Linked DNA regions of Homo sapiens: region 2 is linked to region 1. The links are contacts of gene promoters, found by promoter capture Hi-C in blood cells and fetal thymus (Javierre and others, 2016). All regions are on one chromosome and are shown on one strand. Each heading gives the region's core, a stretch centred on a gene start or on the middle of the fragment in contact. The rest is flanking DNA. Distances are from core to core; before and after follow the strand shown.

Region 1 (5,301 bases), core at 1,025-3,524:
TGGCATAGTGCATGACATATAGAAAACATTAAATACATTTGGGAGATTTAAGAGTGCCTATGTGTTTAATGTTTTCCTGGATAATGATGATGATTAATGTTCTAAAGTGCAGTTAGATTCGTTAATAGCTAGTTTTCAAAACTAATTACATCCTATTCAAGATCTGGGAGTTGGAATCTGAGCCTACAATTAAAAAAACATTTTAACTAGCAGTAAATATTCCAAATATAAAAGCCTAAATCATAGTGATATAAAAATAGGTTAATATACTACTCCGCCATTTAATTGTCATTAGATCAAACATGATCCAAGAGATCCTCGAAATTAGGATTGGGTTGAGTATATACTTGGTCACTATTCATTTCTGGGTCTAAGAAATCCTTTTAATATTAGTATTAAAAATGAAGTATATGGCCGGGCGCAGTTGCTCACGCCTGTAATCCCAGCACTTTGAGAGGCCGAGGCGAGCGGATCATGAAGTCAGGAGATGGAGACCATCCTGGCTAATACGGTGAAACTCCGTCTCTACTAAAAATACAAAAAAATTAGCCGGGCGCGGTGGCGGGCGCCTGTACTCCCAGCTATTCGGGAGGCTGAGGCAGAAGAACGGCGAGAACCCGGGAGGTGGAGCTTGCAGTGAGCCGGGATTGAGCCACTGCACTCCAGCCTGGGCGACAGAGCAGGACTCGGTCTCAAAAAAAAAAAAGTGTATGACCTTGAAACTGATCAAGAGCAACTTTCCAAGTGAGATAAATGACGTGAAAAATCATATATTAAAGTGACCACATTTTACTTAACTCAAAAATTATCTTGGATTTGTGCCATTTTAATTTTCACTGGGTAACTTTATATGGAAAAATCACCTGCAATATGAGGATAAACTTACCTATTTTCCAGAAGCCTAATGAGATTTTTATCAATGATTACAATACTTGCGTGTCTGTCTGGGATATAATATGAACAAGACAGGCTGATGGCTTTGGAAAATGTGCCATGTTTCTACTCAATGAAGCATGAAAAGTGATTTGACAGAGTGCTTCAAGAATGCACTTTGCACTTGTTTTCCTCTCCTGCCTTCAGGAAGATAAGTGAGACAAAAAAAAAAAAAAAAAAAAAAAGACTAAAGTTAGTATTCTTCCTGAATCCATTTTTGAAGAATCCAGTATAATTTTTAGAAAATATTTCCTCTAGAGAAGACATTGTAGGAGGCATAAAAGGGGTCCGCATGTGTGAGCAATTAAAGGTTAGAAGTTTTAAGATTCTCTCATTCCTTCATTCCCACCAGGAAGTCAGTGGTCCATCCTACCTCAGTCTTTCTCCCCTGTCCTTTAAGCTGATTCCTGGCCAAATTCAGAACGGGCAGAAGCAGTAAATCTGGCCCTCTGGACAAGAGATTGAGTTGGTTTACAAAAGTTTCACAAGTATCTAAATCTAGGCCGTTACTGAATCAACTGGATAATCAGACTACCTGTGTCTGACTCTGAAGTGCAGATCAAGTTGATATCGTTGACAACTGGCCAAATCTTAGGACTGGGCCAAGGAAATGGCTGGATGTGTGTGTGTGTGTGTGTGTGTGTGTGTGTGTGTGTGTGTGTGTGTGTTGGGGTTGGAGGGCGGGGTCCGATAGTAATTATGGGTGGGGCCAAAGTCCTACCTCGTAAACAAATGCTACACGAAACATGTAAAAACGTTTATCTATGTATGTAGTGAAGCTTTAAATACATCCCAAGACCCATGCTTATCCCAATACCCACGTCCCTCCAACGACACTGTTACCCCATGCCACTGCTATACAGAATTCTGGTGTCTACCATGCCAGAATCCCTGCCCAAAACAGGGAGGAGGTAAATGGCTGAAGGCCCAGCTCCAGGCACTGTAGAAAATGAGGAAAGTCTAGCGGCAAAAAGAAAGGGCAGTCCCCTCTTCCTCTAGTACTCCTAGCCACATGCTGGACCAATTCACCCCAGGACCTCCAGGCCCTAGATTCTCATTCTTTCCCTGGCCCGAAGAGGACAGAAAAATCAAACACACGGGCTCCCACGTCTTCAGGAAAGACTTAGCTTAGCAGTCAGCGGAAGCACCTCACTACTAACCTCGCTCCTTTCTCCTCTCCTACAGGGGGCTGGAGTTCCCGGCTTCCCACCGGCCAGACGCGATTCTGGCTGGGACAGCAACACCAAAAACGCCAGGGCTAGGGAGCCCAGTTCCCCGTCCGCAGTTTGCGCATGTGCGAAGAGGGGCTTCTGGAGGAGCCGGGGGCTTAGTTGCTAAGAGACACAGCTGGAGAGAGAAGTTCCGCTTAACGCCGGGCTGCGAAAGGCGGGGACGTCACGCTATTGGTAGGGAGTAGAGAGAAAGGGCTGGTTTAAAGGCCTTTTTTTCTGTCCATTGGATGAACTGGATGTCAATAACTCAGGCTGGGTGGGCGGGGCTGAGAGAGGTCGGTGAGAGCGGCCTTAGCAACCGCCAGTGAGCTGTGAAGACTTGGGTTGGGCGGGGCTGCGGGAGGTGACGCCGGGAGGTCCCGGCTGAGAGCGCCGGCTGCCGGCTGGGGACCTGGTGAGTGTGAAGCTGTAACCTTCTGCTGGGGCCGGGGCCGAAGTTTTTCCGCCAGAGCAAGGAAGGCTGCCCCTGGCAGCAACTGCACTCCTTCCTTACTCCTGTTGAGATTCATTTTATAGTAGGAAATAGGTACTTTAATATAGTTTATCATCAATTATTCTGGTTCTGCTAACTATTCCAGTTATATAATTTATCTTTCACCCATATGTGTGTGTATTACAGGCATCTAACTACCATACAAGTTCAGACCAATGGAAGAAAAGAGCAGCAAAAATTGAACTGAATGAATCCCAAAAGCAAGAAATTAAAGACGCCTTTAATTTATTTGATATTGATGGGTCTGGAACCATCGATGTAAAAGAAGGTTCTGAAATTATTTCTAATTCTAAATCATTTTAAAAACCATATTATTTGTGGCAATCTTTAAGGCTTTCTTTAAAAGTAGTCTTCTGAAAGCTTAATATAAAGTCTCTTCAGTGCATATGCCTGCCCTGCATTAGCAAAACGATATCTTGTTAAGCATTTTAATTGTGTTTTATAAATGAGTAGGCAAAAGCCCAGGGTGTAACAGTGATGTACATGATGGCACAGTAGGACTGAAACACAGGCCTGCTGACCTAATTTTCTGTTTATGCTCAGTCCATAATAGAAAAGAGAGAAGCTCTTAATAGGGAGTTAAAAAGCTTAGAAAGAAATCATGGCATATTATAATTCCTTTTCTTCCTATTTCAGATTGCAGTGTGGGCCTTAGGATTTGAACCAAAGAAAGAAGAAATTTAAAAAATGGTAGCTGAAGTTGATAAAGAAGGAATTGGCACCATTAGTTTTGAAGATTTTTTTTTGCCATTATGAGTATAAAAATGATATAGTTATGATTTTATTTTTCAAAGAAATACTAGCAATAACCTGCTACATTTTAGGGCTGGAGCAATCAGAAGTTTTATAGAGAAGCAATTAGAACTAGGTTTTTAAGGATGGGAGATAGGAAGAGCAAGATTAAATATGTTTTCAGGGTAGTAATGAGAAGACTATGATGTGGAGAAGAGGTTTTTGTCAGGAAATAATGAGGCTATATTGCAGGATAGAGAGAATGGGGCCAGAATTTGGAAGCCTTTAATTCAGCAACATATATTGAATGCCTATTTTTGCCAGGCACTATTCTAAGGAGCATTGAAAGATACAACCTTCCATTTTGAAGCTTACATTTTTGGTAACGGATCTGAATTATGAGGTTTAATAAGAGATGCATTCTGGACCACCCTGTGCCTTCTCCACCTTAGCAAGCTCTACCTTTAAGCACCTTGAGGGCAGGTGTGAGTACATAATTGTTAAAAGACCAATAAATAAAATCAGAACACAGCTACTTGGCACATTGCTGCTTTAGACCCCAAAGATCTAATTAAGTCCAGCTTGATAAAATAAATAAATGAAAGACTGGATAGTTGCTTCTTTTTTAAAAGAGTAAAAAAGATGAAAAAGAAGAAATATTGAAGACTTTCAAATTATTTGATGATGATGATACTGGAAGTATAATACTAACCGGTATCAAGAGGTTTGCTAAGAAACCAGGGGAAAATTTAACATGATGAACTTCAGGTAGATTTTGCTTATTTTTATAATTATAATTTATATGTAATTATAACTTATGTGATAATTTAGGATTATAATTCTAACTTTAGTTGCACTTATGCATTTAAAATAAAATTTGGTTTTGAATATGTGTTTGACTTCATTTATGTCATTTTAAATGTATTTCATATATTTACATTTTGTTTTACAGGAAATGCTTGATGAAGCTGATCATGATAGAGATGGAGAAATAAACGAGGAAGATGTTTTGAGAGTGATGAAAAAGACTACTCGTTATTAATAGCGTTGTTTTAGTCCTTGTGGAAAATTAACAAATTTGTATTTGTTATGCAGTTTTATAATTTAATATCTGAATGTATTCATTTTCAGTTTTTAGTTTATATGTACACATTGGCTTCTTGATGTCTAATCCATGTAAGAAGTTACACATCTCTACCAATATGATGTTAAATCTACAGCATCAAGAAACAAAACATAATGACTTCTTTGAGCCATTAATCCAAGAACAGTATTGATTCTAGCTGCTCTTTTGAGAACCTTAGGTCACAAAGACTTAGAATTTTAAAGTTTGATGAAGTTGGCTTCACATCCAAATGAATTTGGCAAACAAAACTTATATTTTCCTTTTGTGCAACCCAAAAAAACCTGATGAACATTTGCTTTTTAGTCAGTTACTCAAATACATAAAGTATTAAATAGAACTGTCTGGAAACATTATTTGCTAATTTTCTTCTTTTAGTTATAAAGAAAATTCAAAATAGCACTTACATCACCCATATTTCCCTGTAAGTTTGACTCTATAGTGAGCACTTAATACCTCTGTGCTAGGACAGGTGGTGTAGAGTTTTATTTTTAAAAAATTTTATTTATATATTTTTTGAGACAAAATCTCCCTCTGTCACCCAGGCTGGAGTGCAGTGGTGCGATCTCGGCTCAATGCAACCTCTGCCTCCTGGGCTCAAGAGATTCTCCTGCCTCAGCCTCCCGAGTAGCTGGGACTACAGGTACCTGCCACCATGCCTAGCTAATTTTTTGCATTTTTAGTAGAGACGGAGTTTCACTGTGTTAGCCATGATGGTCTCAATCTCCTGACCTCATGATCTGCCTACCTCAGCCTCCCAAACTGCTGGGATTACAGGGGTGAGCCAC
Region 2 (5,301 bases), core at 1,021-3,520, 2.7 Mb after region 1:
TGGGCTGCTTCCAGCCCTCTATATGCTCTTCCCTTGGCAGTATTTGAGGCCTGTATCTTCTTTCGTATCCTTTTGCATATTTAATGCTGTTTATCCCTAGAGCTAAACTCAGACCTTTTCTGACCTCCCTGAGTGGCTCAAATTTTCCTTTTTTTATGCTCTCATTGCATCTTACATCTTTCTTTCATAGCAGCCATTACAATGATAATTTCTCATTTATTGGTGTGATGAGTAGATTAATGCCCATCTCCTATGCTTTTATGTTGGATTAGGATGAAACTACCACATGTTCAGTATTCTGTCCTCAGCACCAATTACTGTACCTGATACAGATACTGAGAATTTGAAAACAGAAGTTAGATTATTGATGGTGCAAATTTTCTTGCACATAGGAGGAGGTCCCAGATAGCAGTGGTAGGAATTTGCTGAGGATAGGGAGTGGGACCCGAGAAGAGAGCTACTTTATGATGCAGTGGACCAAGAAAGATGCCTTCCTTTTTATATGTTGCAGATTGGTTATACAAGTGTTCAGTTCAGAAACTGGTTGTAGTTATCTCAAATATTGAAAGTGGTGAGGTCCTGGAAAGATGGCAGTTTGATATTGAGTGTGACAAGACTGCAAAAGATGACAGGTAAATAGGAATTACATTATTTCTACTTTGATATATTTTTTTTCAAAACTTGTTTTTATTACTAATTGAGTTCTAATTGTATTGAACTAGTTTTATATAAAATATAGTTTGTTTCTAATTTATATTTTCTAAGATATCCTCAGTCACCTATGGAAAAGAATTGTGCTCAGTTTAGCATATCATTGATTTGTATATATAATATAATTTTAACATAATTGCCTTTAGTCTAAATCAGTAGTTTTCAAACAGTATTTATGGTGATATATACAAAACTACACATGATATACTAGATGAACCATTTAATAATTGTTCTAAGATATTTTTAACTATAAGGAATGATATTAGACTCACACAATTTAAGATGTAGCTCTGCTGTACTTCCTTTAATGCCATCTACTTCCTAAGACACTTCATAAATTTCTGAAGGTTCCAGACTCCCTGGAAGAGAAATGCATTGTCCTAGGCATGCTCTTCTATAAACTGAGAACCATTTCTTATAGTGAAATGTAGTTTGCTTCTGAAGGCTTTGGTGTATTTTAGGAAATTTTTAGCTTATAAAATAATTTGATATACAATTTAATGTTTTATTTGAGAAAATAGGAAATTAGACATTTAGGCATTACTAAAAATGCTGAAATGATTATACCAATACATATTTTAGATATCACTTATTTTTATTTCAAGAGATGCTGAAGTTTCCTGAACTTGAAGTGATTGGCAAATTTTCTAGTCATCTGATACTAAATGACCTGACACTAAGACCAGCTCTAAAAGATGACTGGCAGGATAAATGAAGTAATAAGGATGAATGTTGTGCCTACTAGGTTGTAGGTCTGAAGGATACTTTCACTCACATTTTTTACAAACCTCCTTTCTCAAATAAGCCCTGCTTATTTGATGTTGAGAGCATTTAATCAGATAAATAATCTAACCACTATGTTTGAAATAATTTGTTAAGACCTGAAATGAATTAATTGATTTGATTTTTTTTTGACAGTGCACCCAGAGAAAAGTCTCAGAAAGCTATCCAGGATGAAATCCGTTCAGTGATCAGACAGATCACAGCTACGGTGACATTTCTGCCACTGTTGGAAGTTTCTTGTAAGTATTATACAACTTCTTGTTGAATTAAATTGATTGGCAAAAAGACTAAGCTACTGCCGTAATCACCCCTTTATTAAATTTTGTCTTATTTATCAGATTTATGTAATATAAATTGAAGGAAAAACATTATCATGCAAAAGTAATGTATCGTAGTCTCCCTTTCCACAGGGAGACCCACAGTGAATACCTGAAACCATGGATAGTATGAACCCTATATAATGTTTTTTTCTTATGCATACATACCTATGATAAAATTTAATATGTAAATTAAGCATAGTAAGAGTTAATAATAAACTGGAACAATTATAACAATATGCTGGCATCACTATTCTTGTGCTTTGGGACCATTATTAAATAAGATAAGGGTTACTTGAACACAATCACTAAATTGCACGGAAGTTAGATACAATATTTTCTTTACTGAAATAAATGTTCATTGAGCAAAATAAATTAACTAGTGATTGGAGACCAAGCCAAATGACCTTTTCCAGCAGTGAGTGGTTCAAAATAGAAGAGAGGCAGCAAGATTAGTTTTACTTTTAGAAAATAATATACTTCAATGATCTTATCCCCAATTTAGGTTCATTTGATCTGCTGATTTATACAGACAAAGATTTGGTTGTACCTGAAAAATGGGAAGAGTCGGGACCACAGTTTATTACCAATTCTGAGGAAGTCCGCCTTCGTTCATTTACTACTACAATCCACAAAGTAAATAGCATGGTGGCCTACAAAATTCCTGTCAATGACTGAGGATGACATGAGGAAAATAATGTAATTGTAATTTTGAAATGTGGTTTTCCTGAAATCAAGTCATCTATAGTTGATATGTTTTATTTCATTGGTTAATTTTTACATGGAGAAAACCAAAATGATACTTACTGAACTGTGTGTAATTGTTCCTTTTATTTTTTTGGTACCTATTTGACTTACCATGGAGTTAACATCATGAATTTATTGCACATTGTTCAAAAGGAACCAGGAGGTTTTTTTGTCAACATTGTGATGTATATTCCTTTGAAGATAGTAACTGTAGATGGAAAAACTTGTGCTATAAAGCTAGATGCTTTCCTAAATCAGATGTTTTGGTCAAGTAGTTTGACTCAGTATAGGTAGGGAGATATTTAAGTATAAAATACAACAAAGGAAGTCTAAATATTCAGAATCTTTGTTAAGGTCCTGAAAGTAACTCATAATCTATAAACAATGAAATATTGCTGTATAGCTCCTTTTGACCTTCATTTCATGTATAGTTTTCCCTATTGAATCAGTTTCCAATTATTTGACTTTAATTTATGTAACTTGAACCTATGAAGCAATGGATATTTGTACTGTTTAATGTTCTGTGATACAGAACTCTTAAAAATGTTTTTTCATGTGTTTTATAAAATCAAGTTTTAAGTGAAAGTGAGGAAATAAAGTTAAGTTTGTTTTAAATTTGTCTTAAAACATTTTGATACTGGTTTGGTGTTGATATAGTTAAATGGTAATTAGAATTGATTCAGCATAGCTAATGAATTCTTGTTCCTACGAAGTTATAGAACTTAAGGGTCCAAAGTTGAGTGAGTCTTGAGGTGTCTTCAATCTAATGGATAAACTTTGATCACATCCTGTTCATCTCATAGCAATAGACTTAAGGCTATTACTTCATCATTGTGAAAAGATAAATGTCCTTTGGAATTAGTCCAACAATTCCAGTTGAACAAGTGTTGATTTTAGTACTTTACTATACTCTTAGCCTTATTGTCAGCCTACTTTTCCTTATATACTTAAATACTATGCTTATTCCTGTGCTTTCATTAATACCCTCATCTGGTACATGCTTTCTATCCAGTTCTCACCTGTTTTTCCAAGGTCAGTTTAAGGCAGATTTGTAAAGTCTTCTCTAATCTCTAATCTAAATCTGACCTCATTTTGTAAAAATTCAGTTTATTAATGTTTATTATTAGACACTAAGTTCTTTATGTGTATTAACTTATTTAACCTTCACTATTTTTAAGTAATTGCACATAGTCTGAATCTGTTCATTCAGAAATTACATATTGAGCAAATACTGTGGATCAGTGGCAGTTTCTGGGTTCTCAGTGACAAATTTGTAGACTCTTCATATCTTTATGGAATAAGTGGACCACTGGTGTTACCAACCTAGATGATTTCAAGAAAAGTGGCAATTAAATGCTTCATTTGTATTTTAACTATTTGAGAAGTCAGACTAAATTCTGCGAAATCACTTTTCCCCCCCAAGATGGAGTCTTATTCTGTCGCCCAGGCTGGAGTACAGTGACGCAGCTCAGCTCACTACAGCCTCTGCCTCCCGGATTCCAGCCATTCTTCCGTCTCAGCCTCCTGAGTAGCTGGGATTACAGGCACGTGCCACCACACCTGGCTAATTTTTATATTTTTAGTAGAGAGAGGGTTTCACCATGTTGGCCAGGCTAGTCTTGAACTCCTGACCTCATGATCTGCCCGCCTTGACCTCACAAAGCATTGGGATTACAGGCGTGAGCCACTGCGCCCGGCTGAAATCACATTTTTAAAGGTTGTGTGTATACTCTGGTCATTTCAACTCAGCTACCAATATTAACAGGATTAAATTCTTAGATTTTTGTATCATTTGCATGCTACTATTTACTCTGAGGTTTCTGGAGAGCTAGTCATGATGAGTCATTTTACCCCTTACAGATTATATAATCAATTAAGAAATACACATTTTGGGCTGGGCGCAGTGGCTCGCGCCTGTAATCCCAGCACTTTGGGAGGCCGAGGCAGGTGGATCACGAGATCAGGAGTTTGAGACCAGCCTGGCCAAGATGGTCAAACCCCGTCTCTACTAAAAATATAAAAATTAGCTGGGCGTGGTGGCGGGCGCATCTCAGCTACTTGGGAGGCTGAGGCAGGAGAAATCGCTTGAACCCATGAGGTGGAGGTTGCGGTGAGCCAAGACCGTGCCACTGTACTCTAGCCTGGGCGACAGAGCAAGGCTCCATCTCAAAAAATAATAAATAAAAAAGAAATACACATTTTGGAGCTGAGTGGGAGCCAAACTATGAGTTTTATTGAGGTGAAGCTATACTGGAAAAGCTTTGCCCTGTAGCTCCAAGTGGACTGTCCCATCCTCTTTCTAGACCTTGAGGCTTACCTCAGGAGGATGATGTTTAAATCAACAGCTGAAAGACTTGTGAGTGGTTTCTACACCATGTTAAAGAGAAGGTTCTAAGACAGCATGATAGGCCTCTAGGCCTGGCCTGGACTCTGGCTCAGTGTTGCTTACCATATGTAGAGGATGAACAGAGGTTAAGCCCATCAAGGTCTGAAGTAGAGCCCAGGAGGAACTGAACTGTATCTGGCTTTCAGGATCCTTTTCCCAGTGTCATCAATCAGAGAAGTCAAACCTCTGTGAGAATGCTTGTGCAGAGGTATAACAGTCTCATGTATTGGTTGGCTTTTGCTGCACCTTTCTCATTCTGTTGGAGGGACATTGGTTAGTCAGGACTCTGAAGGCCAGCTTTTTCACACTGACCAAAGCAAGTGAAGGTCAAGCCTAACTTTAATGGGACCAGGAAGT

The links. The method cuts DNA at HindIII sites, captures the fragments that hold promoters and counts their contacts. A CHiCAGO score of 5 or more calls a contact.
Region 2: a fragment that was not itself captured here is called in contact with the fragment with the promoter of BBS12 in region 1 in 1 of 17 cell types (naive CD8 T cells); the score reaches 7.8 in naive CD8 T cells.

Annotation. Positions count from the first base shown.
Region 1 is chr4:122,729,677-122,734,977 of GRCh38, reverse strand. BBS12 (Bardet-Biedl syndrome 12) reads right to left here and starts at 2,274. Exons shown (of 2, transcript NM_152618.3): 1 at 2,094-2,274. It also overlaps the pseudogene CETN4P. RefSeq lists an enhancer at 1,815-2,024 and a silencer at 2,385-2,604. The HindIII fragment of the contact is 1,306 bases long and covers 1,715-3,020 here.
Region 2 is chr4:120,057,306-120,062,606 of GRCh38, reverse strand. It overlaps MAD2L1 (mitotic arrest deficient 2 like 1), which reads left to right. Exons shown (of 5, transcript NM_002358.4): 3 at 512-632; 4 at 1,630-1,733; 5 at 2,317-5,301. The coding sequence ends at 2,489. Among named protein-coding and RNA genes, the nearest start is that of MAD2L1, 6.9 kb to the left of the region's middle. The HindIII fragment of the contact is 5,099 bases long and covers 1-4,819 here.